Regions from separate parts of the Homo sapiens genome. Here regions 2, 3, 4, 5 and 6 are each linked to region 1. Evidence: promoter capture Hi-C in 16 types of primary human blood cells and fetal thymus (Javierre and others, 2016). All regions are on one chromosome and are shown on one strand. The core of a region is centred on a gene start or on the middle of the fragment in contact, and the rest is flanking DNA. Distances in the headings are between cores, read along the strand shown.

Region 1 (4,470 bases), core at 1,927-4,426:
ATATTCCTATATGTGCAAACATATCCAACAAAAATCCCCCAGCACCTAAGAGAACAAATTATATAAGTTAAATCTAGTTATGTTTTACCCATCCAAGTAGCTGCCCACAATCTTGGATAATCATACCTGTGTATAGGTAGGTACCAAGAAGAGGACCTGGATTGATAATCTTTTCTCATCTTGCTCAAAAGAGGGCAAGGTGAGCCATACTTAGTTATTAACTAAGAGGATTAACTCAGAAAGACTTTATGAGGTTCCTTTAACACTCCACTAGTAATTATATCTCAATTAAAGCTATATTATGCTAATGAATACAAGTTATTAAAGTGAAGCACCTTGAAGTTAAAATTCAAGCTCCTTAGAATGGTGGTTACTAGAGGTTTAGAAGAGAGGAAGGGGGGATGAAAAGAAGTTGGCTAAGGGGTATAAAATACAGTTAGATAGAAGGAATAAGTTATAGAATTCAACAGTACAGTAGGAAAATTACAGTTAACAATAATTTATTGTATATTTCAAAATAGAAGAGAAGATTTATAAGTTCCCAACACAAAGAAAAGATGTATGTTTGAGGTGATGGGTAGCCCAATTACCCTGATTTGGTCATTACACATTATATACAGGTATCAAAATATCACATGTACCCCCAAAATATGTACAACTATTCTATATCAATAAAAAATTAAAAACTTCAAACTCTTTTTCCAGCACCATTAAAGTTTTGCAAAAATCATGAGACTGCCCCAAATTTTTCACTTTTTTTCACTGAGAAAGCAAGACTTGCCTTCCAGCTAATAACATATCACTATGTACTAGAAAATATGTTTTCCATATAAAAAGAAGGGAAGTAAGACTACTATTCCCTGCTCATATGAGGGGACAAAATTACAGGGGCTAATTCCTCCTGATTATGTTTAGCAAAGTTTTTCTGTGCTTCTTTTCCATTTTCTGTGAGATACTATATCATAATTTAAAGCTCCAGCTCAAAAGCCACTGTAATCAAGCAAGAAAACTTTTATGAAGGTTTCTTGGAATAATACATTTCTTTTCATTATGGAGCACAAATTGGATAATTTAGTGTAGGCAATGAATGAAATAGAGGCAATCTGACCATACTTGCTACCTCTGTATCTTGAGAATCCTGAAAGATAGGGTTTCTCTTATTCCTTTTGGGCTGGGTGGAATGATGGTTGCCCTCTTTACTGCCATTTCTTCTTCTTTTCCTGAAAATAAATTGTAAAGAGAGAGTTGTTACATGAAACAACTGATCTTTTGGATGCTTAAATTGTAAAGCCGTGACAACATACATATATGAGAACTTGTCTGAAAAAATGTCACTATCTGCTATCCCAAGATATAAAAGTCATATAAGTACTCCATTACCAGGCATGAAGATAAAAAAATGTAATACAAGAACTCTAAGTAAAGCCAAGCTGTGCATTTCATTTCTAGAAATAATTTTCATAACCTTAAATGATCCTTGAAAATAAAGAATATGAGGAATTTAATAGCTAAGTTTTCAAAATCTACCTAATTAGTTTCATTGTTTTGACTCCATGAAGTTACAATTCCAGGGTAAGTGATTTTTAACTCCTTCAATAAGATCGTAAGACATGTGTGTCTGCCAGTGTCTACTCTTAAGTTCTTATGCCAGTGGTGTAGCGACACTGAAGAGATATTTCTTGTATGCTGAATGTGGTTAGGCACTTACTGTTGCTATACCAGCTAATATTATGACATAGTTACTCCACTAGATTGTCACCATGAGATTGTGGCTGATTACTTCCTTGAAACATTCTTTTCTCAAAATTGTTTTCAATGATTGGTAAGATTACATCTTCAGTTTCAAGTTCCTTGTCAATAAGTAATCAGATTGCAGCGTTTGACATAGTTTTCACAGCACTCTATTATTAACCAGACATTTGCTTAGAGACTTACTTTTGAGTTTTTGGTACTCCTAAGAATGGCTGAGTTTACTCATTTTTATAATTTCATTACTCTTTAATCAATTCTCATCTCTAGGAGACTGAGTACTAGGAGACTCTAGGAGACTGAGTACTGAGTACAAAATGCCAAATAAAAAATCACGTAGAAAACTGCTCCTATATTACACTCCATTATGAAATGATTGATTATATATAAAGAAAAAATGACCGGGTGTAAATATTATTTTATTTCACAATGTTTATTGAGCATCCACTAAGTGCTAGGCACTCCTCCAGGTGCCAGGATAAAAGAGTGAAACAAACACATGCCACAGCTCTGCCTTCATTAGGGAGCATGGTGATGTTTGTCTTTGATCATGGTATTTTGAGTATTTGAGTATTTTGCGCTCAAGTTTTACTGAAACTTTCAACAGCTTACAATACGTTTGCATTGTTTTTAAAACAGAGTAATACTATGAAAATGATTTTTCAAAGTGTGAAGCTGAGTTTAAAAAGCGGAATGTTCATGAAACAATGTTAATCTCATTTTTTAAAATGCAACTTTACGAATGAAAAACATCTAAGGAAATTTATCACAGAATATGATTAATGGTCACGGCTGGGTGATCGGACTGTGGATAAGATTGGTTTCCTTTATTACGCTTTAACAGTCTAACCAAGTTTTCTACCATGAGATTCAGAGACGTTTGTAATGAAAGAATACATTGATAAAGGTCCATAGAACCCCAGTAACACGTGGAGAAAGATGACAAAACCAATCAGAGAAACAGAAATACCAGTTGCTAGGGTACCTAGCAGCCTCACCGAGGAAATGCCAATTTGAAAAACAGAATGCTATTGTCCACTGACTGAGTTTTCGCGAGGGACCACATCCCCACCTCACCCCCGCCTCCAGGGCTTGTAAGGCACTGACAACCAAAGAACCAGCATGTTCTTTCGGAGAAGGCTTCGCGGGATTTTTTTTCAAGCACGAAGGGCGGGGCACGAGGCAAGCAGGGCCGCGCCACCGGCCAACACTGTCACCTGCAGGTCATGAGAGCCGAGCGCCACCAACCCCGGAAGAAAATACATATCCGCTGCGTTTCCGCCCTGAGCCCCGAGATCTTGGCTGAGAAAGCAAAGCGTGATGACCGTGGGGACCAGAGCTCGGACTGGTACCGGCCGGAAAGGCCCCGACGAACTTACCGTACAGGGCAGCCTCCCATAGTCCTGCCCTCGGAACCATAGCAACCGCGCAGGAAGTTCCTGCGCCGCCGGAAAAACGCAGCCCGGAGGGCGGGGCTGGCCAAGGATTGACGGGCTCTGGGCCTGCGCATCGGAGCCCGGGGAGGTCGGCTCCTGTTTCCTCTGGGTCCGCCGCAGGCTCCCTTCCCTGCAGTTGGGAGCTGACGCCTGAGGGACGATCCGCTGAGGGTCAGGCTCTGCTGCGCGACTGCCCGAGCCGCCCCATGTTCGAGACCTGTGCCAATCCCATGGACATTCTCCTCCCACCCAGCCAGCCTCTGAACACGCTTCTCACGTGGCACACGCCCTGTCCTCGCAGCCCTCACACCGCTGATCCTCCTCGGCGACCTCAGCGCCCCCGGGGCTGACCAGGCCGTGGCCGGCGCCTCTCCGTCCTCGGGGGGGTCTCCTTCCCCCCACTTAAGTCTCTTCTGCCCGCGGTCATGCCCTGGGCCTCAGGAAAGACCGCGCCCCTCCACGATGTCCATTTCTTGCATCCCCCATTCTCATAACGGGCAGCACCCGATCGTGTCCTAACAGCTACCTCTTCCAGTGCCCCAGCATCCACAGCCTTTAGCCTCAAGGAGGCCTCCTCTCCACTAACCACAACCGCGTTCCTCACCATTCACCTTCCTTAGCCAGCTTACCCAAAGCTATTAACTCTCTCCTCCCTACTCTCCTGGCAGTCCCCCCGCCGCCAAGTAGACAAACAATGTACACCCTCCACAAGTGTACCTTCTCTGTCTAGTCTACTTACAAGATCCCTCCACAAGCACCAGCACCCAATTTTCTCATGATATTCACTGATATTCCCTTGAGAAAATAGAAGCAATCAGAGAAGAATTCACACCACTTCCCAACAGCAGTAGACCTGCACTTATAATCTTGGCTGCTTCCCTGGAGGAAGAGACAGGATCCTACTTGAGACCAGGCCCTTCACCTGGATCCTATGCCTTCCACCTTCTTAAGGGATCATCCTTTGCAGTTATGCTTTCTCCTGAATTATCATGTTCCTCTATCTGTATTTATTATCTAAAAAGTTGGCAAAGGGAGTGCTAGAGTTTAGGCTGATCCTGGTTCTTGCTGTTAAGTAGGTGATCTCACAGGGGGCTGCATTCCCTGAGGATGGAAGGGAAGATGTGGAAAGTGGCTGATTCAAGAACTAAAGATCATGCCATAAAGGAAGCCTAACCCAGCTAGGGGCTAGGTGACCCTGCAGCCGAGGCTGTGGAGTAGACAGCCCTGGACAGGGGACTTTTAGACTGCCATGTTTGTCGCTGCATTGTGCAATTTTAACAAGAAT
Region 2 (4,811 bases), core at 80-2,579, 1.1 Mb before region 1:
AATTAGCCGGGTGTGGTCGCAGGTGCCTGTGGTCCCAGCTACTCGGGAGGCTGAGGCAGGAGAATGGCGTGAACCAGGGAGGCGGAGCTTGCAGTGAGCCGAGATCATGCCACTGCACTCCAGCCTGGGTGACAGAGCGAAACTCCGTCTCAAAAAAAAAAAAAAAAAAAAAACACAACAGCAAGGGTCTTAATATTGTACCGTAATTACATAATACGTTACCATTGAGGGAAAGTGGCTAAAGAGTACACAGGACCTCCCTGTACACTTTTTTGCAACTTCCTATCAATCTACAAATTAAAAGTTAAAAATGTAAATAATCAGACAGTAAGTTTCCTAAGGGCAAAAAGATACATTATGATTTCTTGGTATTTCCCACATTTCTGACCCAAAGAGAAGACTATATACGTATCTACTGTGTGTGTGAGTCCAGATAGAATCATTTAAAGGTAAATAGGTTTCTCTTTTTCTTTTTAAATGTAAGAAACCTACATGGGGGTAATTTTAGTAAATCTATTTCCAGGAACTGAGGACCTATCCCACCAGTTACACAGTGACTGTGGCACTGTTGTATATAGGAGGAAAAGGTCAAAGAAGGGTGTCCTAAGGTCTTGAAAAAGGAGACAAAAATTAATTAAAATAGCTACTATGTAATCTATCCAATGCTAGAAACTGTGGAGGAGAAATATGACTCAACTGTTACAACGTGAGCAGCTACCCTAGAAAATATAACCCAGCTCGCCATCCCAAAGGAAGAAACCACCAGGAAGAAGAGAAAGGAACACGAGGCAAGGTGCGGTGGCTCATGCCTGTAATCCTAGTACTTTGGGAGGCCAAGGCGGGCAGATCACCTGAGGTAGGGAGTTCGAGACCAGCCTGGCCAACATGGTGAAACCCCATCTCTACTAAACATACAAAAATTAGCCAGGCATGGTGGCGGGCGCCTGTAATCCTAGCTACTCAGGAGGCTGAGGCAGGAGAATTGCTTGAACCCAAGAGGCGGAGGTTGCAGTGAGCCAAGATCGTGCCACTGTACTCCAGCCTGGGCGACAGAGCAAGACTCTGTCTCAAAAAAAAAAAAAAAGAGAGAGAAACACGAATATACACTAGATATATCACACAAGTTTCAGGCACTTTGTCAGGTTTTTTTGTTATTCCTGCACCTCTTACCTGGTATCAGAGAATTCCAAACTAATGACATTGAGGACTTTCTCCCTCTTCCCGCTGTAATAGTATTTCACAAAATCACCAAGCTTCATCTTGCAGTCAGCCTGGCGGGTCACATCAATCACATCAATCTCTTTGTCAGAACCTGGAGTAAAGAGATAGGTTCTGCACCAAGTAGTCTCAGGGACTGTGGAAGACTCTCTTGTCCCCTCATCAGTCCCTAGAATGGCCTTACACTCAAAGCTTCTCTCCACTGACACTGTACATATATGTGTGTGTTTGTTTGGGGGGCAGGGGAAGGAACCCATCGCACTTTCCTTAGATCTATGTGCCCTGCTAGGGCAATGGAACTACCAGACACACAGCCTCACACATAGTAGTCCATCTGCCTGGGCCTTGCTTCTCCATTTCTTCTCTTCCTCTCCCCAGAAACTCATGCCCAGACAACAAGTGGCATGTGAGAACAACAGTCAAAAGCTTTCTCATTTCAACAGAAGACAGACAATGATCCCTAGAACTTCCCAGGTAAAAAACGGAGCTCAACCTGGGGTTTTATGGACTATTAAAAGGAGAAGGGGCTGGGCGTGGTGGCTCACGCCTGTAATCCCAGTTGGGAGGCCGAGGCAGAAAGATCGCTTGAGCCCAGTAGTTGGAGATCAGCCTGGGCAACATAGTGTGACATCATCTCTACAAAAAATAAACAAAACTAGCTAGGCATGGTGGTGCATCCCTGTAGTCTCAGCTACTCAGGAGGTTGAGGTTTGAGGATCCCTGGAGCCCAGGAGGAGGTGGAGGCTGCAGTGAGTTAATTGCGCCACTGTACTCCAGCCTGGGCAACAGGGCGAGACCCTGTCTCTGATAAACGAATGAGTGAATGCATGAAAGGAGAACAAAGAGGAGACTAGGATTTTGACTCTATCTCTGCCAAAGAATGACTTTGGACAAGGCATTTCACCTGAGATTCCCAAGATGGTTACAGAGGAAATGCAAAAACAGATTGGAGGGGAAGGGACACAGATCTTGACAGGAATGAACAATGTTACAGTTAAAAGGGTCTGTAGTGTCTTACCAACATAGTGTTCAACATCCCTCACAGTGAATGATGGCGAGGGCAGCGTCATGCCCAACCCATCCTTCTTCAGGACCAGGATGGGCACACTGAAGCTATTTTCTTCCAGGAATTCCACGGTCAGTTGATTTCCAGTGGGCTTCAGAATCACTTCATCTGAGCTGTGGGCCGCAGGAGAGAAAGCTTGAGCCTGAGGCCCTGCCCACTAAAGGCCTTATTGGAGGCTGCCACTCACCCAAGAGGTGGGGTTTTTATGAGGGGACTTAATGTGAGCTGGCAACTAATGCCAAAAACCTCATCTGCCAGGGAAGAAATGATCTGTCCAAGGCAAGAGACCAGGTCACTGGCAGAGGTGGGGAGTATTCTGCCAACATGGTGCTCTTCTCTGGGTGACAAGAAGAAATCAGTCAACAGCCTGGCCAGAAAGAAAAGACACATCTGACAAGTTTGACAGATTTGTTCAAACCAAGAGCAGCATTACCCAATTTAAAACACTGTCAAAGAGAAAAGACTGATTTAAACAAAACAACAACATTTTTACAACAACTTTCTCAACATGCATATACAACAACTTTCTCAACGTGCATACTTAATGAGTTTCAGCCTGGGCATCATTTCTAAACCCGTCTCCACAAAAAAATTCAAAATTAGCAGGGCATGGTGGTGCAGGCCTACAGTCCTACGTACTTGGGAGGCTGAGGCAGGAAGATCACTTGAACCCAGGAGTTGAGGTTACAGTGGGCTTTGAACATGCCACTGCACTCCAGCCTGGGTGACAGAGAGAGTCCCTGTCTTTTTTTTTTTTTTTTTTTTAAAGAAAAGAAAGAAAATAGTTTTCTTTAAATCATGGTGCAGAAAATAGTTTTCTTTTAAATCATGGTGGAGGAAAGATTTGTATTTGACAACTCTGACAACTTGTGTTGGGACAAATATATTAAGCTCAAGCTCAATGCCTATCTCATTCTTTTTTTTTTTTTGAGACAGAGTTTTGCTCTTGTTGCCCAGGCTGGAGTGCAATGGCACAATCTCGGCTCACCACAACCTCCGCCTCCAGGGTTCAAGCGATTCTCCTACCTCAGCCTCCCGACTAGCTGGGATTACAGGCATGCGCCACCACGCCCAGCTAATTTTGTATTTTTAGTAGATAGGGGATTTCTACATGTTGGTCAGGCTGGTCTTGAACTCCCGACCTCAGGTGATCTGCCCGCCTCAGCCTCCCAAAGTGCTGGGATTACAGGCATGAGCCACTGTGCCTGGCCTGCCTATCTCATTCTTTACATAATCCTAGATGGTCCAAAGATTAAATTCCAAAAAATAAAGCTTTAAGAGTAGAAAAACCTGGGAAAAACCCAGCAGTCATTAAAAATAGTAATAAACTTAACCATATAGAAATTAAAATTTTCTCCAAGAAAGCTGTTATAAATCAGTAATAGTAACACAACAGAATGCCTATAAAACAAGCAAGTAGTTCACAGAGAAAACAATCAAGCTGGTTTATAAATGTATGAAATCTAAGGCTGAGTGCAATAGCTCACAACTGTAATCCCAGCACTTTGGGAGGCCAAGGAAGGCAGATTGTTTGAGCCCAGGAGTTGGAGACCAGCCTGGGCAACATGGCAAAACCCCGTCTCTACAAAAAATACAAAAAAAAAATTAGCTGGGCGTGGTGGCACACACCTGTAGTCCCAGCTACCCAGGAAGCGCAGGTGGGAAGATGGATTAAGCTAGGGAGGTCAGGGCTGCAGTGAGTGGTGATTGCACCACCCGACTCCAGCCTGTCTCAAATGAGACCCTGTCTCAAAAAAAAAATCTACTTATTTCCTTCATAATTAAAGAAATACAAGTGTGAGCTGAGTACAGTGGCTCACACCTGTAATCCCAGCACTTTGGGAGGCCAAGGTGGGCAGATCCCTTGAGGTCAGGAGTTTGAGACCAGCCTGGCCAGCATGGTGAAACCCCATCTCTACTAAAAATACAAAAATTAGCTGGGCATGGTGGTACGTGCCTGTAATCCCAGCTACTTGGGAGGCTGAGGCAGAATTGCTTGAACCCAGGAGGCGGAGGGTGCAGTGAGCTGAGATTGCACCACTGCACTCCAGCCTAGCCAACAGAGCAAGACACCGCCTCAAAAAAAAAAAAAAAAAAAAGAAAGAAAGAAAAGAAGTACAAGTGGGAACAGCAGGATTTCACGATTTATTTTATCAGAAAGGCAAAAAAAAAATTGATAATAAATAATATTGGTGGCTGGGCACGGTGGCTCACACCTGTAATCCCAGGACTTTGGGAGGCCAAGGCGGGTGGATCACCTGAAGTCAGGAGTTCAAGACCAGCCTGGCCAACATGGTAAAAACCCCGTCTCTACTAAAAATACAAAAATTAGCCGGGCGTGGTGGCAGGCGCCAGTAATCCCAGCTACTCGGGGTGCCGAGGCAGGAGAATCGCTTGAACCCAGGAGGCGGAGGTTGCAGTGAGCCGAGATCACGCCATTGCACTCCAGCCTGGGGGACAAGAGCGAGACATCGTCTCAAAATAAATAAATAAATAAAATAAAACAAACAAACAAACAAATATTGGC
Region 3 (4,444 bases), core at 1,561-4,060, 1.5 Mb before region 1:
CCACTGCACTCCGACCTGGGCGACAGCGAGACTCCGTCTCAAAAAAAAAAAAAAAAAAAAAAAAGCTACAGAAGTATACATAATGACAGAGACATGGAACGGGTCAATACGTGGGAAGAGCAAATTTAACAATACCATTTCTATACTAGTTTGGAGAAAACAGCTTGAAAAAAGACAGTTTGGGGACACCTGAGGGAAAAGTATGAACACAGCAAAAGGTGTGAACAAAGCAAACTGGTTAAATAAATTCTGCATACAATAGAATACAATGTAGCCATTAAAAATGCTACAGAAGTATACATAATGACAAAGACATGAAACAGGGGTCAATATGTGGGAAGAGCAAAGTTAAAAATACCATTTCTACACTAGTTTGGAGAAAACAGCTTGGAAAAAAAGACAGTTTGGGGACAACTGAGAAAATGTGAATATGAACCGGATATTAGATAATATTAAGAAAAAATAAACTCCCTAGGCGTGATAATGGTATTGTGGTTTTGTAGATGTCCTTACTTTTTTTTTTTTTTTTGAGACAGAGTCTCACTCTGTCGCCCAGGCTGGAATGCAGTGGCGTGATCTCAGCTCACTGCAACCTCCGCCTCCTGGGTTCAAGTGATTCTCCTGCCTCAGCCTCCCGAGTAGCTGGGACTACAGGTGCCACCACACCCAGCTAATTTTTTTATTTTTAGTAGAGGCAGGGTTTCACCATGTTGGCCAGGCTGGTCTCGAACTCCTGACCTCAAATGATCCACCCACCTTGGCCTCCCAAAGTGCTCAGATTACAGGTGTGAGCCACTGCGCCCGGCTGAGATGTCCTCATTCTTAAGACATGCAGCTGAAAGATTTAAGGATAAAGTGTCATCCTTACTTCTAATGTTGAGAAAAATTAAACACACATCTGTACATATAAATCTAATATGGCAAATACTTAATTGTTGGATCCAGCTGATGGTATACAGATGTTCATTGTGCTATGTTTTCAGCATTTTTGTTTGAAATTTTTCATACAAAATTGAAAGCTGGAAGGGAGGTAATGAATTACATTTTAAAAAGAGCATTTCTGAAAAAATATATAATATGGCTACAGAGCAGTTAAGAAAAGCCTTCGAAGAAGATACTGCATACCAAAATGTTAAGAGTATTTTATCTGTGAGTTTGGGGTTTGCGGAAATTTGTCTGTTTATCTGTATTTTTCAACAATAAGCCATGTATAATTCTACAGTCATGAAGATTACTTAAAAACAAATTCAGGAAAACGTTTTCAAACAAGAGTTAACAAGAAAATGAGCAAACGAAAAAAAGTTCTATTCCCAAAGCATTCTTACTAAAATCAGAATGCTTCTTACAAACTCTAAAATACTGTACAAATTTAATATTATTTAATAATAGGTTTTTGTGTGGCCACCACATCGGTTTTGAACTTTTACTTACATTCATAATTTATACCATTCTCACAGTAGAAAAATTCAAGCAATTCATTGTACTGATTGTAAGGGGGGAAGGGAATGCTGGGTATTAAAAAAGTATCTCCTGTTTACCTATACAGGTTAAGTATCTCCTATCCAGTGCTTGGGACCAGCAGGATTTCAGATTTCAGATTCTTGAATATCTGCCTATACATCATGAGACATCTTGAGGATGCGGCTCAAGTTTAAACATGAAATCCATTCATGTTCCATACACACCTTATACATACAGCCTGAAGGTAATTTTACACAATTTCTCGTATAAATTTAGGTGGCACAAGTACAGTTCTGTTACATGGGTATATTGTGCAGTAGTGAAGTCTAGACATTTAGTGTAACCATCACCCAAATAATGTTCGTTGTACCCTATACAATATTTTTAATAATTCTGCTCATGAAACAAAGTGTTAAGTACTTAGGCGTAGAATTTTCCACTTGTGGCATCGTGTTGAAACTCATTTTGGGGCATTTTGAATTTTGGATTAGGGACACTCAACTTGTGTTACTTCCAACTCCACAAAAAAATGTAAGGCAAAAATAAATGTTAAAAATGATCAATTCTGGAGTGGGGGTAGGGACAGGGATTGTTGTATTATTCTCTGTACTTCTCAGTATATTTTTCAGAAGTAGAAATGCACATATTACAGAAAAAGGTAAAGTTCCCCACGATCCCTCCTCCCAAATAAAGTTGTCAGTTTGCCATGGTTTTTTTTAAAACATAAATAGCATCACATAGTATGTACTCTCTTGCAACTTGCCAAAATTGCCTCCAAAATAGCTGTATCAATTTACGCCACTTGTAGGCAGTATTATAAGGCCAGACTCTTCCTTATACCTTTTACGATGACTTGATATTATCAAATTATTTTTTATCAATCTAATGACTAAAAATGACCTTATTTAAATTTGCATTTCTGATTATTAGTTTGAGTACCATTTCTTGTTAGTGGACGTTTTTAGTTTCCTATTCTGGGAAATGCCTATCCTTAAAATTTCCTACTAGATTTCTTTTCTTATTCCTTAAACACTACCCTTATCATTAAGATGTGAATACACCAAAATGTTAACAGTGACTAAACATTGTGGTGGAATTATGTATATCCTCTCCCCAAATATGCACACATTTTCTAGTTTTTCCTGAATTCAGTGATTAAAAACTAGAAAATGATAAAATGGATGAAAAAAATCCTTTTAGACAAAAGCATTAACTTTCAGGATACTCTACTACAGGTTACCCTTAAGGAGGTCATAAAATCTAGCTCAAAGAAATAAATGCATCTAAAGAGTAAGTCTTGTGAAGAAATGAAACAATAATGGTTTGAGACTATTGATTCATTTGGGGTACGTTTAACTAACTTATTTGTATAGCATTTTTGAATTCATGAAGTACTTTTCATTTATCTTGCTTAACCCTAACAAAACTCTGTGACATTCTCTGATGCCTTCTTGTAAACTGCTATAGCACATTTTGTTCATTCCTCATATTACCATACTGACCCTTTTGTGTGATTTGCAAGTCTCCTTCCCCTAGACCACACTGTCCTACATTCTCCAGTCACTTATCTTTGTATTCCCAGGATGTAGCTGCAATGACTACGTCCTCAATAAATATTTGTTAAATGAATATCACCATCTTCATTTAAAGGATGAGGAAACTGGCTCAGTGATGAGGTAATTTGCCCCAAGTAACATAGCTACTAAGTATTTTATATAAATTATAATGACCTTATCTTCGTACTTTACAAGCATTTAAAAATACATCATCTCGCTTTAATGCTCACAGCAACCTATGAAATAGGCTTTCCGATTACTGTTTTATAGATAAGAATGGAAATTTAGTGATATACCCTAGGCCCACTCGAATCCTAGTTTATATGAAGTACAGCTGTTTCTTTACATTGTACTTGATCACTACCTGGGTATGGGAGCCTCTATTTTTATGTACCAAGTACATTAAGGGTAGGGTATAGGGGAGGAAAGATGGAAGTAAGGCAGTTTAAAGGCACAGGAAAGAGGCTGGAGCCCAGGTGTACAGGCCCATCTAAAGACCATAAACTGGTATTGTAATGTCAACTGCACATGCCACTCTGAAATCCAATATTGGCCCAAAGGTTTTTCTTGATATTACCCTGTATTAATAGAAGACAATTGTTGGCTTTCTCACATATCAGCAGTCTCAAAGGCTGGGGAGGCACACAGAATTAGGAAAGCTGTGAGAAACAATGGACAGGCTATATCATGCATAGACAGTGCAGGGGAAGAAATGATGACACAAAGGAAAAGGCTAAGGAACTTTAAACATGATTTCACAGTCCTTAACTCGACTGTGAGTTTCTCAAGGGCAGAGACCAAGTCTCATTCATTTTATGTCCCTTACTCCTTATACTTAGCAACATTCAGTAAATGTTATGTTAAAAGAAAAAAAAAGATATATTAAGCTAAAAACTGAACAATGACTTCCATTTATTCAGCAGCACTTATTACATGCCACAAACTATACTTTAGATATTATGTGTAATGTTTAAAAAAATAAGATTTACCTGTTTGCTGACCTGCCATGCATGGTGCTGCCCAAATGTGTTAACAGTGGTGATACTGATGACTATTAGGAATACTTATTATAGGTTACTAAGGTTACAACAGAACCTTGAACACCTTGAATAGGAGGGGCCAGTATAGACGGAGAGAGATCAAGGTAACCAATGTAATACACATTACAGAACTAGCTAAGACCCTTCAGAGGGTATAAATGTGACTCCTAAGGAGTTCCAAAGTGAAAAACTACTCTATGGAACATTCAGTTATCACTGGCCAAAGTCTCAGACCCAAAATAACTCAAGAACAAACCCTATCCTGCCTCACCACTGATGATCCCACACAGACCTAAAGGGTCCAGACACATTTTGTTAAATGGCCATTATTTTCACCACCCTGACTGCCCACCTCTGAGCTGTTGAAGGAGTTAAGTAAAATAGTAC
Region 4 (4,268 bases), core at 307-2,806, 1.6 Mb after region 1:
ACTGCTTCTTCTGCTCCTTGGTAATGGGGGATGTCCCTCTGCGTGCTAGGCAAGGAGAAAGCTTCACTTTTGTTCTGAAAGGAGCAGAGATGAAGGTCACATGTTCAGTTCCTCTGGTCCTCTAAAAAACCACCCATGTGTTACTTTTAAGTGAAATGTCATTCTGAATGCACTTCCTACCAGTACCTCACGATTCATCCTTCTACCTTGTTCTCCTTGAAGACGATCTAATAATGTAATCTTGGCCAGTAGGAGCCTCAGCAAGTTTTCCCCCATTTCCTCTCCTTCCAGTCAAGCCATGTGAACACAACTATCCGGATTTCAGTGTATACAGGCAGGCTGTCTCTGCCATGTGCCAGTTTACCCACTCTCACACAGGAAGGCACCCACAAACCATAGACACAGATACACATACACACACTCACTAGGGACCTCAGAAATGAAATCACAAACACACCCGCACACAGAGACACATGCAGACACACACAAACACACACATAGACACACAAACAAGAAACCTCACAGGGGCACAGGGGTGCAGGCCCAAGCATTCTCCCACACAGACACATACACACCACCACAGGCACGAGACTGCCTACAATTTCTCCCACACAGGTTCTAAATGTGCAAAGGGAACAGGAGACAGGGGAGAATTCCTGACTCCAGGCCTGGGCCATCATGCCATTGATTGATGGGCAACTCTCGCCTTCTCCTGAGAATCAATGTGGGAAGTCTGTTAACAGATAGGATCCAGCAGCTGGTGTAAAACTGGAGCATCCTGGGTCAAGCTGCTTAAAAAGGAACCTCACTTTGTGTTAGAGACAGAGAGAGTTCCCTTGGGAGCCTTGGCCCTGTGTGATGCCATAAGAATCTGTGGTGTGTGGTGGCATTCCCCAGCACCCCTGAGCCACCCTCCTCCCACCCCCATCTGTGTGAAACCCAGGACAGCCTGAGCAGAGTCAGACTTGAGCAAGTTGCTGAGTGTCCTCTCTGAGAGATACTCCTGCTTCAGGCCCTGTGGTTTCCAGTTGAGCAGTCCACCTATTTTGATGACCTCCATGTGTCAGCCCAAGGCGGTAAACTCTACCTGGAGCTCCAGGCTTTCGTAGGACCCCCAGTCCTGCAGCAGAACCTTGTGTAAGCCAGCTGGGTGACCAGCACCTTGTCCTGGGGCAGTAGCCCTATGATCCTAGTCCTCCTGTGGTGTCCCAGTAATGATCATGTTTTTTGTTGTTTACTTTCTGCACGGGCAAGAGCCATGAAACCTGCAGAGAGCCAAAGGAAGGGCAAAGGCTGGCTCCCTAAACAGGATTCCCACAGGATCTCCAGCCTACTGGTCCTGGTCCTTGGTCACACGGTCCCATGAGTTTGGTGATCAATCTGGGACCAGGTGACTGATTCCTTTCACTCCTCTGTCTTTTTTTTTGTTTCTCTTTCCTCTTTACCTTTTTTCACATGGGAAAAGGCGGAGGCCCTGGAGTTGAAGTGGCAGGGTTACAGTTGTAGTTGGCGTTTGTGGAGCCATACTGCCATCAAGCGGAAACTGTATCTAGAAACCGGAGGCAGCTGGGCACAAGTGCTGGGGAAACCCCACGAGCGCAAAAGAGATGGCGGCATGGAGCCCCCAGGCTGAAGCAGGACAAGAGAGGAACTCCAAGCTGGCCCTTGGCCTGTGCTCATTCCCAGGATGCCTCCCTGGTTCCACAGCTCTCTCCGAAAAAAAGGGCAGGTAGGGGCGACCCACCATGGGTTCCCCTGGTCATCTCCAGGTACTGCTGGTCCTGGGTTGCCACGTCTCCAGTATCCCGAAGCTCCTTTGTTCCCCGGGAGGATCGGGGCCCCCTTGCCAACACGTGGCTCCAGCCAAGGGAACCCCGGAACTCCCCACAAAAGACACCAGAGTAAACGGCCCCCGTCTCGGCCAGTGGCTTCGTTTATGTCCATCTCAACATGGCTGCCGGGCCAGCTCCGCCCTCTGGGCTGACTGGTCTTGGGGCTGCCTGGCTGTTCTGTCCTGGGGCCTCTAGAGTAGTTGCTTCTCCAAAGCGTCCCAATGCCAGGTACACTTCCTTCAAGGGCTCAGAACCCCGGTGGGGGAAACCCAGGCTTAGACATAGTCTAAGCACATCCTCGCTGATCTCTGTTCCTGGCAGAAGGCAGGTGTCCGTGCATCCTGTTGTGTTCAGAAACAACTTCCACTAGATGGCAATGTGGCTCCACAAACAGCAGTCTTGTCTTTCCCTTCCCCCATTTTCTTTCCCTCTTTCTGTTTTTGGTGCCAAAAACCAAAACAAACACCAAAAAAAAAAAAAAAAAAAAGAAACTGGCCTAGGAGCACCCATCTCACCTACAGCAGGGCTTCCCATCTATGTGGTCACTTTGGGGGAACCGGCAACAGTAGGATGGGGTAGGGGTGGGGGCCACAGGGAGCAGGGCAGCTTCCTGGCCCAACAGGCCTCTGTGCCCACGCGGTGCAGACCCGGGCTTGAGGGGCTGATGCTTTCTCCTGGCTGGTGGCTCTTCCTCTGTGAGGCCACAAGAGGCCACTCATAGTGCTGCCAGCTGTCCATCTGAGGCACTTTGCATTGCAGTTCGCTGTCAATCTCATTGCTCACTGATTCTTTGTGTACTTTTGGAGTTTTTCTCCCTTCACTTTTTTCTTCTTCATTCTCTTTACTTTTTCTCCACTTCTGCTCCAGGAGCAGACTGGAAGGCAGGGTCAGCTGGGCGCGGGGACACCGTTAGGGAAAACAGGCTTACTTTTCCTAAGGAAATTAGTAGGACTCTAGCTGACCCCTGCGAGGAGAAATTGGCGTTTCCCTCTCCTTTCTGCCCTGTCTCCATATTGCAGTGGGTGGCTGATTATCTCTTTTCCCTGGTGTCCAATTCCTCCCCGTTTTTCATCTTATTCTTTTTTGGGCGGTCCTTCCCTGCCTTGGCCTTGTAGCCTTGGGGCTTGGTAGCCCCTTGCAGTCAGCTGATGACATCTTCAGGGCAAGGTTCAGCCAGCACCTGTGTTCTCTGTAGCTTCTGCAGGCCTACTTGTGGATCAAAGCTTTTGATCTTACTCAGGAAATACCCCATCAACAAGACGCTTCCTGGTTGTGTGTCCTTTAAGCCGGATGTCAGAAGTGGCTCCGTGCCCCTCGTTGTATGTCACCACGCGTTGAGGCCCTCCTAAACTAGATCCTTCGGGACAGCTACAGTGGCATGGACCTCTCACTTCCTGTTCTCCTTCTGATTCTTCTTCCTCTTCCTCCTCCTACCCCTCTTCTTTAATTCTTCTCCTTCTCCTCCTTCTCCTCTTGCTCCTCCTCCTCCAACTCCTTCTTATCTTCCTACTCCTCCTTTTTCTTTTTCTTCTTTTTCCTCCTTCTACTCCTCCTCCCCCTCCCCCTGCACTTCCTTCTCCTTTGCCTCTTTTTCTTTTTTTGCTTTTGCTTCTGCTTCTGATTCTGCTTCTGTTTTTCCTTTCACTTGCGGATCTGGGTGGGCACGTGTTCTAGCAGACTGCTTCTTCTTTTGCTCCTTGGTGATGTGGGATGTCCCTCTGCAGAATTAGGCCTGGAGAAAGCTTCACATTCGTTCTTTAAGGAGCACAGATGAAGGTCATGAGTTTAGTCCCTCTGGTCCACCAAAAGGCTACCCACGTGTTACTTTTAAGTGAAATGTCATGGTGAACGCACCCTTTACCCAATACCTCATGGCTCATTGTTATTTCCCATTCTCCTTCTGGATGCTGTAAGTGTAATCCTGAGCCAGTAGGAGCCTTGGCAAGTTGTTTCCTAACTCCTTTTTTTCCAGTCAAGCCATGTGAACACATCAATCTGAATTTCAGTGTGTGCAGGCAGGGTGTCTCTGCCACGTGTTCATTTGCTCACATTTCAGTGTGTGCAGGCAGGGTGTCTCTGCCACGTGTTCATTTGCCCACTCTCACTCACACAGGGAGGCACACACAGACACACATGCAGGCACTTACAAGAGACCCCCAGAAGAAGAAATAAAATCACAAACACACACACAGAGATACATGCACACCCAGACAAAAACACGCTTACACATACCCACACAAACACACACATACACACACATAAAGTAAGCTCACAAAATCAAAGGGGTAGGGGCCCAAGCATTATGGGACACAAACACACATCGCCACAGGCATGCGACTGCCCACATTCTCTTCGACAGGGGTTCGAAATATGCAAAGGGGAAAGGGAGACAGAGGAGCATTCCTGCCTCCAGGCCTGAGTCATTATGCCATTTAT
Region 5 (4,668 bases), core at 704-3,203, 1.7 Mb before region 1:
CCAATATCCAACCTTTGGGCTTCTCCCATCATTTCCAGGGAGGACAACATCATCTCACAACCCCAAGCCTCTCTAATCACAATCAATATGGTAAACATTTTTGTAATATATATTATGGACTGAACACCAGTAAAACGTTTCAAGGAATGTCTGCTTTAGGGTACTCACAGGCCAATGAAGATACAAAAACATGCACCATCAATATAGGACTTAATAAACATTAACGTGTACCAAGTGTCTACGGTATGCCACAGAGGAAGACTCACTCACCAAAGGGACTAAAGGAATGGCTTGTAGAGGTGGGCCTTGAAGAACGGGGGCAAGTGGGGGAGTGCCATAGCCCTTTTCAGAACAGCTGGGAATACAAATCTACTAATGCTGAGGGGACTGAATGCCAAGAGGTACATCCTAGCTCTTCCAACAGGGGCCACTACACTAAAACCCGAGGAAACTGGGTGGACACCAAGCATTAGCCCTCCAGGCCAGTGGTTCTCAAACAAGTTGGGGGGTTGGGGGAATCACACACACCCTCTGTGACATCTAGCAATGTCTAGAGACAGTTTTGATTGTCATGCCTGGGGAGCAGGGGTGCTACTGTTATCTAGCAGGTAGATGCCAGAGATGCTGTTAAACATCCTACAATGCACAGAGCACATCCCACAGCAAAGGATTATCTCGCTGGAAATGTCAATAGTGCCACTGTTGAGACACTCAGTCTCCAGGAAAGGTACTCAGTATGTGCTACTTCAGCAAGGGCAGCCTCTTAGGCTAGGATATCATTCAGCTAGAACATCTCTGGGGTGGAAGAATACAGCAGGATTCCAAATGGACATCTGAGGTGAGAGGAATCCACGGTGTATCGTTTAGAGTTGGGAAGACACAAAATAGAGGCTTTACCTGACCACCCTTTCTAAAGACACCACCTAAGTCACTTTATCACATCCACCTGTCTCATTTCCTGTATAGCACTTATGACAGCCTAAAACCATCTTATTTTCTCCTTATCTTCTTTCCCCTCTGGAATATAAGTTCCCTGTGAGCATGGAGTTGGTTTATTCTATTCTCCGCTGTTTCCACAACTTGCAACTGAATAACTCCTGATAAACAATAAGCATTCAACAAATTTGGTAAATTAGTTAATTTCGGCTTTTGACGGTTTCGGTGGTAGGAAAAGGGCGAGTTCGAGGCAACTACCTCTGACATAGCGGTGGGGGGTGGGGATCGACACCTCAAGCATTCTAAAGACTGGAGCGCTGGGTCTGAAATTCAAAAGTGCCGCCTCCAGAGAAGAGTAGAAAGGAGTTGGAGTGTACCAATGCGAGGCGAGAGAGGACGCTGGGCTGAAACAGAAGTGCACCGTTTGGGACCGAAGGCCACGGGAGAGCTACCAGCGTCCCCACATTCTCCGGAGGGGGTCAAGTAAGGCTGGGAAGCCGGCTCCGGCCGGTCCGGCGGGGAGCCGCGCGGCGGAGGACTGAGCTGGCGGGAAGCTGGTTCCAGACGCGACTCCTTTGGCGGGAGGGGGAAGTAGGCGGGGTAACTGGCAGCTCGGCCTGTACCACTGGGCCGGGGCGGGGGCCGCGCAGGAAGCGGCAAGTGACACCTGGAAGGGGTTCGAGTTAGAGCACCCGCGCGGGGAGAGTGGGTTCGAGCAGAACCCCCTCTGGACGGGCAAGGAACCCGTAAGGGTCCGCGACGTTTCAGGTTACATGGGCTGGGTTGTACTACTCCGGCACCGGATAAGGGGTCCAGGCCGGGACGTGCGCAGGGCCGCGGCCAGGTTTATCTCACCAGAGCCATTGGGTCCAATGATGGCGGTGAACCTCTGAAATGGTCCGATAATCTGTCGACCCTTGTACGACTTAAAGTTCTCAATCTCAATCAGTTTCAGGAACCCCATGACGGCCGCGGCGCCGGCGGCAGTAGGACAGGCCGCGCCGTACGCCCGAGAACTGAGGTAGCCCGCGCGGGAAACGCCGCAGTGCAAGCCGGGCGACCGGCAAATGTCGCGAGAATACGTCCAGGCCTAACGGGATTTTCGCCTTCCGGCAGGAGTGGGACCAGGGGCGGGGACTGATGTTGCGTATACGAGGAGCGAGCTGACGACTGGCGTGGTGCCTCCGCCCCCCTTTCTTGTTGCATGGCAACAACAAACACTTGCTCCTGCGGACCAGATCCCCGGAGGAGTTGTTGCTGGGCGGAGTCAGAGCAGTTCTTGAGGTTCAAGGAGGCGGGGGAGACCTGAGCTCACGCTTGCTGAGACAGAAGTCACAGCAGGATTATGCCCCTCAGGGCAAGAGGAAGGTGGGAGCTCGGCTGTGGCTTTAGCCTGGCCAGCTTTCAAGGCTAGGACAAGGACAGGGTCGGGAATTGGAAGGACCCGGGGGGAGCGGAGAGCTGGACGGGAAGGAGGGGCCAACGGGAGGATTCAGTGTTAGGTGAGCTCAGACTTTGCTAATGGTGGGGTGGGATTGGTGGCGGGACGGGTTGCGAAGGCGGACGGGTTGTGAATGGGACTGGGGCTACTCCCAGGCAACAGGGATACAGGCTGGGGAAGGCTACGGCCTGAGATACTACCCCTATCCCCTGCCTCCCTCCTGTTGTACCAAGCAGAGTTCAGAAACTGCCGCCGTAACCCAAGAACAAAGTTGCATGCAGAGCCAACCTAAGAGCTTCAAAATCGGGATTCCTTACTGAGAAAGGTATTTTGTGTGAACCCCCAGGAGTCAGGGTCCCTAAGCCAGCGCTCTCCACCTCCACCTACCTCTGCCTCCATGCCTCTCCCCCATCCCATTCCCACAGCTCTATACCACAATGCCACCTTACCTCTCTTCCCTCTCTGCTCTCTATCATTAATAAGGCAGGGGCCTTAGCAATCCAAGAAGCTTAAAATGTCAGCTGAATCTTCCCCTTCAGTGACCTTATACTGTAATGGCAGGTGAAACCAGTAGGTAAGTTGGTGCCATTCTCAGACTTAAACATGGAAAGGATCTGGTGGTTGCCATAATTATTCCTTTAACTATTTATTAAATTATGTCCGAAGGCTAGAAAGAGTCCTAAAGACTTAGGACAAGTCCAGGAAAGTGAGGAAGTGGCTGGGCATGGTGGCTGACAACTGTAATCCCATCGTGAGGGAGGCAGGCCAAGGCAGGAGGATCACTTGAGACCAGCAGTTCAAGACCAGCCTGGGCAACATAGTGAGACCCTATCTCTACTAAAAATTAAAAAATTAGCTGGGTGTGGCAGCTCTCACCTCTGGTCTACCCAGGATGCCGAAGCAGGAGGATCACTTGAGCCTGGGAGGTTGAGGCTGTAGTGAGTGGTGTCCGCACCACTTCACTCCAGCCTAGGTGACAGAGCAATACCCTGTCTCAAAAATAAATAAAGGGAGGAAGCTTGGTAGATGGAATCTAGTAGGGGAGCCATAAATGAAGTTCAGCTGGGAGAAACAATCAGGCTGAGGGGATAAAATGGCTAAAAGACAGCAATCTCATGTAATCCATGGGGAAATACTGTTCCCTTTTAAAAGATGAGATGGTGAGCCTGGGTAACATAGCAAAACCCAATCTCTACAAAAAAATTTTAAAAATTAGGCAGGCATGGTGGCACACACCTGTAGTCCCAGCTACTCAGGAGGCTGGGGCAGGAAGATCCTTTGAGCCCAGGAGTTTGAGGCTGCAGTGAGCCATGATTGCACCACTACACTCCATCCTGGGCAACAGAGAGAGACCCCATCTAAAACAAATTAAAAATAAAATAAATTTTATTCTCTGCCTCAGCCTTCCAAGTAGCTAGGATTACAGGTGCCCACTGCCACGCCTGGCTAATTTTTTTGTATTTTTAGTAAAGACAGGGTTTCACTATGTTGGCCAGGCTGGTCTTGAACTCCTGACCTCCTGATCCACCTGCCTCGGCCTCCCAAAGTGCTGGGATTACAGGCGTGAGCCACCGCGCCCGGCCAAAAATAAAATAAAATTTTAAATTTAAAAAAGATGAGATGGCACTTGGGGGGAAAATTAAATTGGATCCTTATCTCACACCATACACAAAATGCAACTCCAAGTGGATTAAAAACCTAAGTGACGCCGGGCACAATGGCTCATGCCTGTAATACCAGCACTTTGGGAGGCCGAGGCAGGAGAATTGCTTGAGTTCAAGACTAGCTTGGGCAATATAGTGAGACCCCATCTATATTAAAAAAAATTAAATGGGGCCAGGTGTGGTGGCTCATGCCTGTAATCCCAGCACTTTGGGAGGCCAAGGAGGGTGGATCATAAGGTCAGGAGATTGAGACTATCCTGGCTAACACTGTGAAACCCCATCTCTACTAAAAATACAAAAATCAGCCGGGCATATATGTTCAACTACTTCACAGTTACAAAATGGAAAACAAAACAAAACACCAAAAAGATCCAAATAGCTATAGGAGGAATTAAAGAATCACGCTCCAAACAAAGGAACAGCACATACAAAGGCCCCGGGGTGGGAACAATTACTGTGTTGGAGGACTTGATCAGCTTGCCTGGAGCACTGTAAGCAAGGGAGACAGTGGTTTGAGACAAATTGGAGAGGTGTGCAGGAACTAGATCTTGAAAGCCCACAGTAAGGAGTTTGGATCTGATTCTAAGTATAGTGGGAAGCTAGTGGAGGATTTAAGCAGGTGAGAGA
Region 6 (4,252 bases), core at 1,681-4,180, 1.9 Mb before region 1:
ATTTTGCATGCATACACAGACCACACTCCCCTGCCCCTACCAGCCAAAGCAGGTGGCAAACATCTGGGGCTCAGTAAGCAGGGACAAAAAAAAAAAAAAACAGGCAGGCCAAAATGGTATGGCTCAAATCCAGACAAGCTCCCCATGCCCTCTTGCCTCTCATCAGGATAGGGCACTCCCCTCAGCACAGGTAACCCAGCTAAAAAGGTGCTCAAACCCAAAACTCCGGGCACCCTTCTTTCCTGCTGAATCAAGTTCTAGACAATCAGTGCAACATCAAGCACCTGACAGGAAATGGCAGCCCTGGAATGCTACGGCAGGAGCCATGGATGCAACAGATACCTGGGAAGGCCCTGCAAACCGCCTGCCTTCATCTCCAGACTACTGTATGCCAAATGTATGTTGGTATTACTGGGATGTGGTGATAAAAAAAAGGCTGGCTACCTGATGAAGAAAGCAAGATCCTTCCAAACTCCACTGGGTCTACTCAGGGTACCCACACTCTCCTCCCACCCATCTTTCCCAAGCGTAGCAGTCACCTGCCCAGCAATTCAGGCCCCAAACCATCCTTCCTCCAGCAAACCTCCAATTCCCAGGTACCCACCCATATACAGGTTCCCACCCTGGGCCCAAGCATCACTTGAGCGAGTACTTCAAACTTCAACCAGAAGAAGGCCAGCTGCCTAAAGGTGGCCTAGGAGCTGCCATAGAGAAGGAAAAAACAAAACCAAACCAGAGAGCCAGGTATCCTGGATTAGAGAGAAGCACACTGTTGAGCAGTGAAAAGGACGGCCTCCTGCTGGCCATGCACACCTGGGACATGTCACTCTTCCCCTTCCTGATGCCCCAAAGCAGGGTAACAACACCTACACAAGGCCAGCCTGCCTAAGTCAGTCCAAGATAGAAAAAAGGAATTCAGGCCTCAACTACCCCCTACGTCAGCTATGCCTCTTTTTCCCACAGGCTTGCCCAACCACTTCAGGGAGTGCCTCCTTGAGGCTGCCCAGGACTCCTGCCTCTCCCTTCCACTAGCCTTCCTGACCCTCTACCCACTGCCACTCCCTCACCATGGACAAGGATACCTCAGAAATCTGTGGCCAGACTCCAAGAAGGAAGAAATTCGCTTACCCAACACCTCCTAGAGGATCTATCTGAAACCATCCTAGATCTGTGGCTGAGCACCAGAAAGCACCAAGTTGGATAAGGAGGCCTGTGGTGCCCTCCTCAGGTGGGAATGAAGCTTCCTATTCCATTTCAGCCAGGAGACACCCACTCAAAAACACCCTTTTCCAGCAAAGCTCAATTTCTGCCCTTGGAATCCCAACTGATCACTGAACATTATCATCACTTTTCCACCATATCAGCAAGGCAGCAGCTTGCCCTAGCCCTTGGGAGACTTCTAGCCTGAAGCCAGGCCTAGGAGGAAAGCTATGGCCTTTGTTGCTGACCCCTGGCAATCATGTTCCAAAAGGGACAGAATTCCATGGCTCCATTCTGTTCTGCGGGCCCAAGAGTGCCCTATCCTCTGGGATCTCCTACATCCTGGACCAGAGGAGAGTAGAAATCTTCTGAGAAGGACTCACACCCCACCACCAAGCTGACCGGTCCAAACATCTCCATAGGAAGTCAAGTCTGCGGGATGATGTGCAGAAAAGGCCTTGACATTGCCTTCAACGAGGAAAAGAAGAGGACAATTCCCTGAACCCACCTCAAGGGAGACAGAGCAATCCCTGTGAGACTGATTTCCTGACTGGTCCAGCAGGCCAGGATATTATCATAGATGAATTGGCCTGGCAAGGTATGAGTAAATATGAGTCAACCTACATAGGAATAAACCAATGACCACATCAAACACCCTCACAGTCACAATAATTACCACTTATCTAGTGCGTACTACATACAGACGCTACCTAGTTTAATTCAATCCTCTAAATAACCATTTCTGGGATCCATTTCACGGGCTCAGAGAGATTACTTCTACTTTCCCAAGGTCACACAGCTGCTCAGCTTCAAAGTGGAGTTTTGAACTCAAGTCTGTCTCCCTTCAGGACTGCGATCTTTCTATTAATACTATACTATGCTGCCTGCCTTAAAGGAAGTGATGACAACAGATTGGAGAAACGTCTTATTTTTACAGCCTCGACCTAGGTGGCCCGGGCTAAGAGATGTGCGGGGTGCCTCTCTGTGAACTCCCTCCGGCCCACTAGGAATCCCTGTCTTAAACCCGGAGTGATTCTGAAGGGCCGGGGTGGGGGTGGATCTCTGACTCCAGGTCACCTGTGGGCCTCACACCACGAGAGGACCCCTGGCCCAACACCCTTTTTCCGATCCGCGCCGCAACCACAACGGTCCCAGCCACCCCCTCTCCCCACCTCGAGCTGCCCTCCGCCCCAGACTTCGCCGCTGGCTATCCTACTGCTTCATTCCGTCTCGCCGCCGGCGAAAACCGGCCCCGGGGCTTACCGCGGGTGGGCGGATCTTGCAAATGCCCGATTTCTCTGCGATGGGCCTGATTTTCGCGATGTAGCCAAGAGGGTCTCGGAACTCGGCCCAGCTAGGCTCGAACACCGGGCACTCCGGTGGCGGTAGGAAATCGTCGGACCCCGGCTCCATGGTGGGCCCGAGGTCTGGGCCAGGGATCGGGAGGCTTGGACCGCCCTTAAGGACTCATGGCGCCGCCGCTGTTTGAAGCCGAGGCAATGCTCGGAGGCTAGGCCCTAAGCGGGGCAGCCGCCGCCCGCCGAGGGCCTAAGGGGGCGTGTGGCCGTCGTGCTCTGAGAGTCTCAGGCTGACTCTACTGCTACCGCCTCTTCGTCCCGCTCCGTTTCTTCCAAACTGTGTGGTTGCCTCCCCACTACCGCAGCCTTCGCCACCACAGTTACCTCCCAAACGCCGCGGCCTTCAGCGCCGCCGCCGCCATCTTGGTTTGTCAGCGTCTCCCCTCCCCACACCACAACAAACCGGATCCTTCCGCGGGGTGTCCTTCCGAGCCTCGTATACGTTGCGTCACACCAAGCCCTAGGAAACCTTCATATAGTGGAGACCGAGCTAAATAGGCTGGTATGGGTTTCTATTTGGAAGGGGTTACTCAAAAGTACCACCCCGGACTGAGAGAAAATAGTTCATTGCAACGGCGGAGGAACAAGATTGTAATTAGTTTGCCGGATCGTCTTTCCGGATGGACCGGCGGTGCACGTTTAAAGGCCAGTGATGCGCATGCGCGTTATGGAGACCGGAAGAGGAGCTGGTGTCCGTGGGTGGTGGAGTCAAACCGGCACTCCCCCGCAGACCTCAACCAGGTCGCTAGCCCCGCACCAGTGTTCTCTGTCCCTTCTCCCTGGTCTTAACGGTATGGGCCGCGGAAGGCGGCTCTGGGAGCCTGATTGCAAAGGACCCCTTATGCTGGCCCGCGGGATGGGGGGAGATGTACTAGGCTCCAGCTCTAGACACTGACACCTCTGGGGCTTTGAAATAAGGAAGGCAGGAAGCTGCTCACTCCCCGGGGATTATGGATTTTTAGGATTCTGAGTCCCAAGTAAAGGAAGGAAATCTTTATTTCATCCAAGGTTACAGGTAGAGAGATGGGGTTTCGATTCTTACCCCCCAAAAGTCACTGGGAGTCAGCATTTTAATGAACGCTTTCAACTGTTCTGTATTCACTTTTACCATGTACACATTTGTGGCATATACTCCTACAAAATAAGCCTGTGTGTATGTATACTTTAACTATTGGATGTTTAGCAACGGCGTATTTATCCAGTGTCAACTGTGTAAAACACCTGTTTGCCCATTTGTGAGCCTACAGTGCACTTACCAAACATCCGTGTACTTTTATTGTATTTATTGTGTATAGCCCCTGTGCATTTGGTACCAACTGTATGTACATTTAGTCCTATCGTGTGCATGTTCCTTGAGCAGTTTCTGAATAGGTTCATTGCAACTACAGTACTTTGAATGAGTATCATCAAACCAGTACTTTGTACATATACATCAGGCATCTACTGATTGGAGGATCATCTGTGTCATTCATCAGCTGTGGACCTACTGCATATAGTTTGAACACCTACTGTGCAAATATTTGAGTACTTGCGTACATGCTGATTAAGTAATTTTGTTTTCCCCCATCAGACTATGAATTCCTTAAGGGCAGGGACCATGTGGCCTTATACATCCTTAGCACTTGGCATGTTAAGCAGTAAATGAATGTTGAGTAAACAAAAGAAAAATGAATAAATGTCCTTAGTATATATTG

Evidence for each region. The method cuts DNA at HindIII sites, captures the fragments that hold promoters and counts their contacts. A CHiCAGO score of 5 or more calls a contact.
Region 2: a contact is called between a fragment that was not itself captured here and the fragment with the promoter of VCF2 in region 1, in 1 of 17 cell types (total B cells). The highest score is 6.0, in total B cells.
Region 3: a contact is called between a fragment that was not itself captured here and the fragment with the promoter of VCF2 in region 1, in 2 of 17 cell types (total B cells and total CD4 T cells). The highest score is 8.3, in total B cells.
Region 4: a contact is called between a fragment that was not itself captured here and the fragment with the promoter of VCF2 in region 1, in 1 of 17 cell types (fetal thymus). The highest score is 5.4, in fetal thymus.
Region 5: the fragment with the promoter of SMC1A here is called in contact with the fragment with the promoter of VCF2 in region 1 in 8 of 17 cell types (naive CD4 T cells, non-activated CD4 T cells, naive CD8 T cells and 5 more); the score reaches 10.4 in naive CD4 T cells.
Region 6: a contact is called between the fragment with the promoter of KDM5C here and the fragment with the promoter of VCF2 in region 1, in 5 of 17 cell types (neutrophils, naive CD8 T cells, total CD8 T cells and 2 more). The highest score is 9.2, in neutrophils.

Annotation. Positions count from the first base shown.
Region 1 is chrX:55,158,009-55,162,478 of GRCh38, forward strand. VCF2 (VCP nuclear cofactor family member 2) reads right to left here and starts at 3,177. Exons shown (of 3, transcript NM_001166701.4): 1 at 3,129-3,177; 2 at 1,121-1,220. The coding sequence starts at 3,148. RefSeq lists enhancers at 2,840-3,139, 2,965-3,465, 3,466-3,966. The HindIII fragment of the contact is 5,872 bases long and covers 1-4,470 here.
Region 2 is chrX:54,015,425-54,020,235 of GRCh38, forward strand. It overlaps PHF8 (PHD finger protein 8), which reads right to left. Exons shown (of 22, transcript NM_015107.3): 5 at 2,237-2,397; 6 at 1,171-1,312. Among named protein-coding and RNA genes, the nearest start is that of PHF8, 27 kb to the right of the region's middle. The HindIII fragment of the contact is 157 bases long and covers 1,252-1,408 here.
Region 3 is chrX:53,671,752-53,676,195 of GRCh38, forward strand. All of the region lies in intron 3 of HUWE1 (HECT, UBA and WWE domain containing E3 ubiquitin protein ligase 1), which reads right to left. Among named protein-coding and RNA genes, the nearest start is that of HUWE1, 13 kb to the right of the region's middle. The HindIII fragment of the contact is 9,468 bases long and covers 1-4,444 here.
Region 4 is chrX:56,762,404-56,766,671 of GRCh38, forward strand. All of the region lies in intron 2 of NBDY (negative regulator of P-body association), which reads left to right. Among named protein-coding and RNA genes, the nearest start is that of NBDY, 35 kb to the left of the region's middle. RefSeq lists enhancers at 1,204-1,253, 1,274-1,393, 1,357-1,858, 1,854-2,213. The HindIII fragment of the contact is 2,994 bases long and covers 60-3,053 here.
Region 5 is chrX:53,420,701-53,425,368 of GRCh38, forward strand. It overlaps SMC1A (structural maintenance of chromosomes 1A), which reads right to left and starts at 1,954. Exons shown (of 25, transcript NM_006306.4): 1 at 1,792-1,954. The coding sequence starts at 1,900. It overlaps RIBC1 (RIB43A domain with coiled-coils 1), which reads left to right and starts at 2,173. Exons shown (of 8, transcript NM_001031745.5): 1 at 2,173-2,304; 2 at 2,614-2,702. RefSeq lists enhancers at 1,111-2,085, 1,202-1,381, 1,502-1,551, 1,742-1,921, 2,086-3,057 and 1 more. The HindIII fragment of the contact is 3,638 bases long and covers 1-2,883 here.
Region 6 is chrX:53,222,277-53,226,528 of GRCh38, forward strand. It overlaps KDM5C (lysine demethylase 5C), which reads right to left and starts at 2,931. Exons shown (of 26, transcript NM_004187.5): 1 at 2,464-2,931. The coding sequence starts at 2,613. It also overlaps a transcript of IQSEC2 not described here. RefSeq lists enhancers at 2,473-2,572, 2,813-3,192, 3,031-3,325, 3,203-3,252. The HindIII fragment of the contact is 15,929 bases long and covers 1,239-4,252 here.